Regions from separate parts of the Homo sapiens genome. Here region 2 is linked to region 1. The links are contacts of gene promoters, found by promoter capture Hi-C in human tissues and cell types (Jung and others, 2019). All regions are on one chromosome and are shown on one strand. The core of a region is centred on a gene start or on the middle of the fragment in contact, and the rest is flanking DNA. Distances in the headings are between cores, read along the strand shown. Region 1 holds the start of ZNF74 (zinc finger protein 74). Region 2 holds the start of KLHL22 (kelch like family member 22).

The links. Contacts are between HindIII fragments. The study calls those that stand out against the background at their distance.
Region 2: the fragment with the promoter of KLHL22 here is called in contact with the fragment with the promoter of ZNF74 in region 1 in 6 of the 25 tissues and cell types used here (IMR-90 fibroblasts, bladder, liver and 3 more).

Annotation. Positions count from the first base shown.
Region 1 is chr22:20,391,996-20,397,493 of GRCh38, reverse strand. It overlaps ZNF74 (zinc finger protein 74), which reads right to left and starts at 3,343. Exons shown (of 5, transcript NM_003426.4): 1 at 2,832-3,343; 2 at 2,076-2,161. The coding sequence starts at 2,865. RefSeq lists enhancers at 3,163-3,302, 3,773-3,842, 3,244-4,233. The HindIII fragment of the contact is 17,508 bases long and covers 1-5,498 here.
Region 2 is chr22:20,491,821-20,497,095 of GRCh38, reverse strand. It overlaps KLHL22 (kelch like family member 22), which reads left to right and starts at 1,301. Exons shown (of 7, transcript NM_032775.4): 1 at 1,301-1,336. LOC101928824 (a long non-coding RNA gene) reads right to left here and starts at 1,183. Exons shown (of 4, transcript XR_007068011.1): 1 at 409-1,183. RefSeq lists an enhancer at 135-787 and a silencer at 982-1,641. The HindIII fragment of the contact is 15,001 bases long and covers 1-4,075 here.

The DNA.
Region 1 (5,498 bases), core at 2,094-4,593:
ATATCATGATTGTGGTGCTGGTTACACAACTGTATACGTTTGCTCAACCTCATCAAATTGTATACTTAAAATTGTACAACTGTGCTGTATATAAATTACACCTCAATAAAACCTTACCCCCCAAAACACTGGATTTCAGATGAGGAGGTAGAGATGAGGACAAATGCTGAGAACACACCCCTAACTGAGGCATGCAGGCATGAAGGATGACGATAGCCGAGGGAAGGAGAAAATGGGCTGAAACAAGGCTCCAAGCCAGGTGTGGGGGCACACACGTTGGTCCCAACTACTTAGGAGGCCGAGGTGGGGGATTTGCTTGAGCCCAGGAGTTGAAGGCTGCAGTGAGCTATGATTGTGCCACTGCACTCCAGCCTGGGCGACAGAGCAAGACTCTGTCTCAAAAAAAAAAAAAGAAAAAGAAAGAAAAACAAAAAAATAGCTCCACAGGTATCAGAATATGGTGTTGGCCAGTGAGGCTGTCAGAGGCTACATGGCTTCAGTGTGGGGAGCAAAACCAGCAAGAGTAGGGTAGGGTCTGAGGCCCGCACAGGCCTTTTTGATGGGTATTTCTGGCCACTGGGAGAAGTCCATGTCTAATGTGTCATCATTCTGCAGGGAAAGGAATAAAAAACCCAGACAGTATGCATTGGAATCAGATGCTGATGTGGTAATGACACTAGCAGAGAAGTCAGAACAGACCACACAAGATGTCCCAGGAGACAGAACAACTTGAACTGTGAGTGAGAATGAGACTGTCAAGAGAAAATGCCAAAGCTGATGTGTACTCAGGAGAGTCAACTGGTTATTCAAAGATCTAACAAGCTAATATTTTAGGAATAGGAATAACACATGCATGAGGGCCCTACCACCTAGACGGAGCTGCACAGACACATACAGACATACATACATGCACACACATTTTTTTTTGCTGAACCATTTGAAGGTAAGTTGCAGACATCATGATGTCTCACTCTACAGTCTTCAGCTTGTATCTCCTGTGGATATTCTCTTACATAATCACAGTACTATTATCACATGCAATAAATTTCATATTGATACAATATGACCTAAGATACAGCCCATTTTCAAATTTCCTCTTGTCCCAAACTGCCCTTTATCAATTTTTTTGGATCTATCCCCTAAGCAAGGAACATGCATTGCATTTGACTGTCAAGTTTCTTGAGGACTATAAAGCATTGTGACACACTACAGAAGTGAGGCACAGCTCACAATACACGTTTTGCAGCTGTTTCTAGCTGGCTATAATCTGCCATCACCTCTTTTGAGTGGCAGACTGACAAAATCACAAAATGCTAAAAAAAAAACAAAAACCCAAAGACCCCTTATTCCTCCACATCTTTCACTCTACTGTGCTCTCTTTGTCAACTGCACCCTTCTAAATACAACCATGGGGTGAGGTGGTTGCGGTAGAAAAACAAAATGAGGAACAGAGTTCACAGTCTGTAAAAGGAGGGATCTGGGTCCCATTTGGCTGCAGAAGTTCCCAGGGCCAATTCCTTGCTGAGCCCCCAGATTCTCTAAATCTCCAGGACTCTCCATGAAGGCCCCATGCCAGGGGCTGGGTACAGAGGAAAGCACACAGGGATGTGTCCCCTACCGCCACTCTTAACCAAGTGCTGCAATCCAGCCCTTCCTGAGCTGCTCCACGTGCCCCTGTCTGATTCCAGTCCCAGTAAACCAACCGTGCAAACATCCTGCACCAACCCCTGGCCAGCACGTGGATAGGCAAAGCGACCCCATGTGAGCCGTCAACTACTTTCTCAGATTCCACTAAAACCACTCCTCAGAGCTCCCAGCACAGCGCTGGGCAGAGAGATCCCCAGCAACTGACCCACTGAATTGGACTGGGCGAGACATTCAATAGAGCACATCTCGAGGGCACACCTCGGGCAACATCTGGACTCTTCACTTGGAGCTGTTCCCACTGCCCAGAGCTTCCTGAGGACTGGCCAGCAGGTACCCGGGTGAAGGTCTGTGGAAGGCTGACGATCCAGGGCTGGGGAGGGAATGTGCCAACCCTCTTCATAAAGAAGGAAGAACACACAGCCACTCACCTTGGACCTGGCTTCGGGAAGACCCCAACCCGATATATCCTCGAGATTCTCTTTCAGGGAAAGAGCAGGATCCTGAGAGGAAAGAGCTGGCGAAGGAGAAATGAGTCAAGGTCACGGCTACCAGGCTCACGGCTGAGCTTAAAGCCCACCTGTCGTGGCACAAGTGAGAATCAGAGAGGAGGCAGAACCTGCCAGCAAGGCCAGGTGGGGAACGAGCCCCAGTAGCTAGCACCAACAGAAACAGCATCGAGGAATAATCTGCCTGTGTCTCAGACACTCCAATTCATGACGAAAAGAGCTGCTACCCCCAATCAAGCACGTCTGAGTGGGAACAAATGATTGGGCGCGGGGAAGAAAGAAGCAGGAGGCCAGGAGCGATGGCTCACGCCTGTAATCCCAGCACTTTGGGAGGCCGAGGCGGGCGGATCGCTTGAGCTTAAGACCAGCCTGGGAAACATGGCAAAACCCCGTCTCTACTAAAAATACAAACATTAGCCGGGCGTGGTGGCGCGCGCCTGCAATCCCAACTACTTGGGAGGTTGAGGCGGGAGAATAGTTTGAACCCGGGAAGCAGAGGTTGCAGTGAGCGGAGATCAAGCCATTGCACCACTCCCGCCTGGGTGACAGAGTGAGATTCCATTTAAAAAAAAAAAAAAAGATGCTGGATGCTTCTGGGAAACTGGCCTGATCTCTCTGAGTGTCAATATCCTCAAGTGCAAATCCACAGACATACTGACTACAAGAGTGAAGCTGTACCTGTCTTCTCGGGCTCCGGGGCAGGGATCTCCATGGCCTCCACGGCAGCCTCCCCAGGAGGAGTGGGCAGCTGTGTAGCCTCCAGGATCCAGGGCAGGCCCTGAAGAGCGAGTACTGCTCCTGGGGCTGAGGGGCCTGCAGCGGAGCCCCGCGGGGCGGCCACGCGCTCACAGCTGCACGATCACACGCACGGAGCCCCCTCCCCGCGCCCGGCTGAGGTGGGGTTCAGGCCGGCTCCGCAGATACCCACTCCCCACACCAGGCTCAGCCCCATGCTCGGCGCACTCACGCCCCGGCACACCCCCGCCACACGCTCCTCCCGGCGAACCCGCGCTCGGAGACCAGGGCCAGGCCTAAGGTTCCGCGGCCAGGAGCCATCGGACGCGGAGCGACCAGCGGACAGGTCCCGAAGCGGACAGAGACCGCCGACGGTCTGAGGGACCGGCAAGTGGACAGACCGGACTCCCACAAAAGGACTGCGACTGCCACAAAGAGCAGCAGGCGGCCGCTGCGGGAAAGCGCGCCTGCGCGAAATAGGCGCAAACTACACCTCCCGGGAGCGTTTGCGCCGCGCAGGCGTCAGACTCCATTTCCTAGAGCGAGTTCGGGCCGGTGCTTGCGTCCCGACGCGAACGAGTATCTAGCACATCCTTCTAGGAAATGTAGTTCCTGGGCCCACAGCCGGGAGCTCCGGCACCCACCATGCTCTTGCGGGCGGATGTCGCTGTGTATCTCCGTGTGCGGATCAGTGTAGTGCCGCTGCATGGGTGTCTAATTGCGAGGATACTGGGAGGGCGGTGTCCAGGAACTAGAATTTGTCCTGTTAGTTCGTCCACGTCCCCACGTAGCTGGGAGTCGGGTGGGTTCCTGCCCACATCTGTCTGCAGGAAAGACTCAAGCCCCTGGTCTTACGGATATTGGGAGTGGTGGGTCTGGCCTCGAGGGGTTTTCCAGGGGCCCTGCCCCCACTCCCCCTTCTCGAGCCACATATCTGAGGCCCATGGGCGCGGGTCCCCAGAGGTGGGAGAGCCTTGGCCTAGTCCCCCCAGAGGGTCCTGTCCACAGTTCACCCCTGGGGCGGGAAAGGAAGGTCTGGGTGGCGGCCCAGTCCTGGCGGCACAGAGCTCTGCCATGAACACAGTGATGACGCCAGCGACAGAAACATTGAATATGTACTGAGCACCAACCAAACGCCAGGCCTACTTCAAGAGCTTGGAGTACATTTTTCTGGCAGAATGCTCACAGCAGTCCAGGGAGGTTTGCTAACTACTGTCATCCCATTTGGGAGATGAGGAAGTTGTGGTACAGGTGCGTGGGGTAACGTGTCGCAAATCACACAGCCAGAAGTAGGAATCCAGCACCGAAGTGCATTGCCACATTCCTACTGAGAGGTGGTCCGGGGTGGTGCACACTCCAAACCCTTCAGCCTCCCACCTTAACCGCAGCTTAGGCTTGGCCACAGGCTCTCACGTGACACCTGTCCACTGCCCACATCAGCACAGCTGTGCCCAGACCTCCCCTGCCCAGGGCAGCGCCCGTGTTTGATTTTGTTTTGAGACTGGGTCTCACTCTGTCGCCCAGGCTGGAGTGCAGTTGCACAATCACGGCTCACCGTAGCCTCAGTCTCTCGGGCTCAAACTATTCTCCCACCTCAGCCTCCGGAGTAGCTGGGACTTACAGACATGCACCACCACGCCCGGTTAATTTTTATATTCAGCGCCCATTTTTAATAGCAACCCAGTGAGAGGGGACAGCGTGCTGGCAGTCCTCACAGCCCTTGCTCGCTCTCGGCGCCTAGTCGGCCTTGGCGCCCACTCTGGCCGCGCTTGAGGAGCCCTTCAGCCCACCGCTGCACTGTGGGAGCCCCTTCCTGGGCTGGCTGCGGCCGGAGCCGGCTCCCTCAGCTTGCCGAGAGGTGTGGAGGGAGAGGCGCGGGCGGGAACCGGGACTGCGCGCAGCGCTTGCGGGCCAGCACGAGTTCCGGGTGGGCGTGGGCTCAGCGGGCCCCGCACTCGGAGCTGCCAGCCGGACCCGGGCAGTGAGGGGCTTAGCACCTGGGCCAGCAGCTGCTGTGCTCGACTTCTCGCCGGGCCTTCGTTGCCTCCCCGCGGGGCAGGGCTCGGGACCTGCAGCCCGCCATGCCTGAGCCTACCCACCGCCGTGGGCTCCTGCGCGGCCCAAGCCTCCCCGACAAGCGCCGCCCCCTGCTCCACGGCGCCCAGTCCCATCGACCACCCAAGGGCTGAGGAGTGCGGGCGCACGGCGCGGGACTGGAAGGCAGCTCCACCTGCGGCCCCGGTGCGGGATCCACTGGGTGAAGCCAGCTGGGCTTCTGAGTCTGGTGGGGACTTGGAGAACCTTTATGTCTAGCTAAGGGATTGTAAATACACCAGTGGGCACTCTGTGTCTAGCTTAAGGTTTGTAAACACACCAATCAGCACCCTGTGTCTAGCTCAGGGTTTGTGAATGCATCAATCGACACTGTATCTAGCTACTCTGCTGGGGACTTGGAGAACCTTTATGTCTAGCTAAGGGGTTGAAAATACACCAATCGGCACTCTGTATCTAGCTCAAGGTTTGTAAACACACCAATCAGCACTCTGTGTCTAGCTCAGGGTTTGTGAATGCATCAATCAACACTGTATCTAGCTACTCTGGTGGGGACTT
Region 2 (5,275 bases), core at 52-2,551, 100 kb before region 1:
CCATGTTGGCCAGGATGGTTTCCATCTCCTGACCTCGTGATCCGCCCGTCTCGGCCTCCCAAAGTGTTGGGATTACAGGCGCCAGCCACCAAGCCCGGCCCCACCTTTCTTTTTAACCATGAGCCATCTCCAGCCACATCCTCCCCCTACCACTCTCTCCACCCTTCACAGTCCCTCTCAAAACCACAGTGTGGGACACTCCAACCTTATCCCATCAGGAGGCTCTGTGGCTCCAAGCTCTGGGCGCAGCCATTACGGATACGCCTCGGAGGATGGGACCTGCTCGAAGGTGAGGTGGAGAACAATGAATGCCAAGACCCGCGCACGGACCTCTGGGACCAGGCTTTAAGACTGGGAATTAGATTTACTGCAAAATCTCAGTAAAGGAACGGGCACACAAACTAGCACCTGTTCACTCTGGCGGTGTTAAGCGATTCTCCCCGATATCCCGCAGGGGGCGCGCTACGGTCAGCGGCACCGACCGCGGAGGGAGCGGGGAAGGAGCAGGCCGCGGGAGGGAGGGAATGAGCGCGTGACGAAGGGAACAAGTGGAGGAGAGGAGGAAAGAAGGGAATCAAAGAGGGAGGGAGGCAATGGGAGAAGAGGAGAGGGAGGGAGGGAAAGAAGGGGGGAAATGAGACAGGGAGGGAAGGAATGAGAGAGGGAGGAGAGAACGAGAGTTAAGGAGGGAGGGAAAGGGAATGAGAGAGGGAGGGGATGAGAGGGGGAGACAGGGAGGGAGTGAATGAGTGAGGGAGGAAGGGAATGGTGGGTAAGATAGGAAGGGAAGGAATGAGAGAGTGAAGGAGGGAGGGAATGAGAGGGGGGGAGTAAGAGAGGAGAGAAGAGAGTGAAGAAGGGAATGAGGAAAGGAGAGGGAGGATATGAGCGGGGAGGGAGATAGTGAGGAAGGGCAGGAGGAAGTGAGTCGAGGAATGAGGGTAGGACCGAGGCAAGGAAAGAGTCAATGGATTCAGACGGGGCGACTCTCGGCAAATTCGCTCATTCGTTGGTTCGGCCCCGCCAAGTGCCAGGTGCCGCGCTAGTGCGGGGACTCACTGAGCCTTGGCGATCGCTGCTGTCCTCCGCAGAGCGCCGGAGTGGAGCCGCCCCCTGTCTCCCCGCCCCAGGGCCGCCCCCGCGCTGCTACCCGGCCAGGCCGGGAACCCCCGGGCCTACGTCTGGCCCGCCCGGCGCCTGCGCGGCGCACCCACGTGACGGCCCAGGCCCCCGCCCCGCCGGCTCCTCTCGCCCAGCCTCCCGCCTCGCGCCTCCCGCCTCCCGCCTCCCGCCTCCCTCCAGCTGCGAGTGCGGCCTCGGCTGGCGGCGGCACCAGGTCAGCTGCGAGGCGTGAGCCGAACGGGCCGGGCGGCAGCGAACGCGGGGGTCGGGCGGCAAGCAGGCATCGCTGGGCCGGGGACAAGCTAGCGGCGCGGAGTCCGAGGGGCGCGGGGGCGGGCGCGGGCCGGAGGCTCGGGGGCGGCGACCTGAGGAGAGCCCGCGGCCTGACGTGGCGGGGACGCGGCCGGCGGGATCCCCGGGCGCGGGCGCGTAGGGGCCGGGATCTGGCGCTCGGCCAGGGGCCAGGGTGCGAGGCCTCCTCAGCGCGGCTGCTGGCGCGCCGGCCTCCTGGCACCCGGGCGGGCCCTGTTGCCTGCGGCAGGTCCGAATGCGGCCTTCCTGGCCGCGACCCTCCGCGCTGGAGCGGGCGGCCTTGCAACAGGCGGGCGATTTGGGGCCGGCCTGACGAGCCTCAGTTCCCTCGATCGGGCCCGGGGACTGCAGCCGTAGGAGCCCAGCCTTGCCAGCTCTCCCGGTTTCCTGAGAGGAGCCGGAGATCGCGCTGTCAGTGCAAAATCACCAGAGCGCGAAGCGTCGGCTGCCAGTTCTGACCATTTTAGATCCGGTGCGGGCCGAGCCGAGTGGATCTGGGGCGGGCAGCGGGGCACCGCCACCTTCCGCCTGGGCTCCTCACTGGGCGCCCTCGCTCCGGCCCTCCGCGGGGCCGAGTGCCTCCAAGACGGCTCCCTGGGAGATTCTTCCAGAGCGCACCCTTTGGAAGGCTGCCCCGCTGGGAATCAGCACCCACTCCCTCTCCTCTACCGCAGCCGCCCCCTTTGCCTTTGTGGCCGACCTTGCTTCATGCTGCCAAGGATTGAGTTTCTTTGAGGGGATACTGCTCGTTCGGGGGCCCTACAGAAGGCTGAGGGTATCTACTCAGTAAAATCGTACCGAACTGAAAGTTCCTCTGAAATGATTTTGACTCTGCCATCCATCACTTCATAAAAATTCATCTTGTATCCTTCAGTTTGTAGCTATGTGGCACATTAAGCTTCCTTTCTTCTCCCCACTGAAACTTCGAACAGTACAAAACGGGGAACTTGGCTTGTGATGACTAAAATTGGGGATATGAGACTGGGGGCGGGCGCGGTGGCTCATGCCTGTAATCCCAGCACTTTGGGAGGCCAAGGCTGGCAGATCACCTGAGGTCAGGAGAGACTAGCCTGGCCAACATGGTGAAACCCCGTCTCTACTAAAAATACAAAAATTAGCTGGGTGTGGTGACACGTGCTTGTAATCCCAGCTACTCGGGAGGCTGAGGTAGGAGAATCGCTTGAACCCAGGAGATGAAGGCTGCAGTGAGCCAAGACCCTACCACTGCACTCTAGCCTACACCATATAGTGAAACCTCTTCTCTACAAAGAAAATTTGAAAAATTAGCCGGGCGCAGTGGTGAGCTCCTGTTGTTCCAGCTTCTGAGGAAGCTGAGGTGGGAGGATCACTTGAACCTGGGAGCTTGAGACTGCAGTGAACCCCAAGCTGTCTCACCCCAGATAGCCAGGACTACAGGTGTACACCACCATGCCTAGTTAATTTTTAAATTTTTTGTAGAGAAAGGGTCGCGCTATATTGCCCAAGGTGGTCTTGAACTCCACCTACCTGGACCTCCCAAGGCACTGGGATTACAGGCATGAGCCACCATGCCCAGCCTACTTTGCACTTTTTTTTTTGGGGGGGGGGCAAAGTCTGGCTCTGTCGCCCAGGCTGGAGTGCAATGGCACAATCTTGGCTCACTGCAACCTCCACCTCCTGGGTTCAATCGATTCTCCTGCCTCAGCTTCCCCCTTCCTCAGCCTTCCCAGTAGCTGGGATAACAGGCATGCGCCACCACGCCCCACTAATTTTTGTATTTTTAGTAGAGATGGGGCTTCCTCATGTTGGCCAGGCTGGTCTTGAACTCCTGACCTCAGGTGATCCTCCCACGTTGGCCTCCCAAAGTGCTGGGATTACAGGCATGAGCCACTGTGCCCAGCCTACTTTGCACATTGTTTTTTTGTTTGTTTTTTTGTTTTTGAGACGGAGTCTCGCACTGTCATGCAGGCTGGAATGCAGTGGCGTGATTCTCCTGCCTCAGCCTCCCAAGTAGCTGGGATTATAGGCACCTACCACCATGCCCGGCTAATTTTTTTGTATTTTTAGTAGAGATGGGGTTTCACTATGTTGGCCAGGCTGGTCTTGAACTCCTGACCTCGTGATTCATCCGCCTCAGCCTCCCGAAGTGTTGGGATTACAGGCGTGAGCCACTGCGCCCGGCCACTTTGCGCATTTTGACTGTTGCCTAATGTTCTGTCAGATCACTGTGCCATGACATCTGTTCTCCTGAGGGTGGACGTTTTGGTGATTTAAAACCGTATAGATGTGGTTTTAAATGTTTTAAATGTTGCACCCTGTGCTGTGCTCCTTCCCAGCAGAGAATTGATTCATTTTTCAGCATATCCCCCTTAGCCCCTAGCTAAGTTTCTTAAATTGGACTTGGTAAATGTGCTTTGCCTGCCCATGGAAGATGTCTTTCTGTTTTACCGTACTTGTTTTTGCAGTATGGGTTTAGGGAGTAGCTGCCATTTATCCCTTCCCAAGAGAGCAGAGGCACTACTATGCTCACGGAAGGTGAGGATCCACCTGGGGGCTTGATGTCTATTGGGGTAGTTGTGGAGGTCACCCTCAGAGAAGGAGGCCCTCTTGACTCTGCGGTGGTCATGGTGGTGATGAGAAAGCTGAGGCGTGGGTATATGAGACAAGTGCCCAGAGTCTGTCATTAGCAAGTGGTACAGCCAGCCATGGGGGCTTTTGAGATGTTTGTGAGATAAAACCTCACCCCTCAAGAAGCCGGAATCTCCTTGTCGTGGGTAAATAGGCAGGTTTGGGCCGGGCGCGGTGGCTCATGCCTGTAATCCCAGCACTTTGGGAGGTCAAGGCAGATGGATCACCTGAGGTCAGGAATGCGAGACCAGCCTGACCAACATGGTGAAACCCCATTTCTGCTAAAAATGCAAGAAAATTAGCTGGGTGTGGTGGTGCACGCCTGTAATCCCAGCTACTGGGGAGGCTGAGGCAGGAGAATCACTTGAACCTGAGAGGCAGAGGTTGCAGTGAGCCAAGATCACACCACTGCACTCTAGCCTGGGTGACAGAGCGAGACTCCGTCTAAAAAAAAAAAAAAGGGCAGGTTTGAATGGTGGGGCATATTTGTCATGTTCTCTGTACAATGATAGAGGGAGAAGTAATCGAGCTAGACCTTGACCAATATGGGACTATGAGAGACAGAATGGCCTAGATGGGTGACTAAAGGTGTTCAGGGGATGACAGGTATCCCTTTTGGACTAAGGACTGCTGATGGGGCTGAGTAGGTAAGGCTTGAAGGAGAGCAGCCTGGGGAGGATGAGACAAGAGGTAGGGAAACTGGTAGGGGCATCACTGCTGTGGTCTGACCCAGAGTGGTGGCCCTGGAGGAGTGGAGGGTGGCTGTCTGAGATGGAGGAGAGGTGAAGGAATCAGAACTAGTAGGTTCATAGGGCACATGGGTTAGAAAGGAAAAATATTAAAACAGTGAGGTTTCCAAGATGGAAATGGTAGCTTTGATAGTAAAATTAGACAAGTTGGAGGGCTACTAGCTAGATTAGGCACTGAGCTGTAGGTGAAACTGGGAATGTGAACCACTGGGAAAGAAGGATGGGCTCGAGCAGGGTGTGTGGGATGAAAGAGAGAGGTCAGAAAAGGGAGAATTATCATAGAGCAGAGTTTCCAGGCAAGAGAATCCTAAGTGAGAGGTGGTCATGGGGTATACACCTTGGCTGTGGCCATCTCTGGGGCCTTGGTGAGAAAGATGAGCCAGCCCAGGAGGGGGAAAGGAATGGGTGGGTGGCTGGATAGAGGTCCCAGGTCCTGGAGGCAGACTCAGGGGCAGGCACAGATAACTGAGTGTGTTTGATGGGAA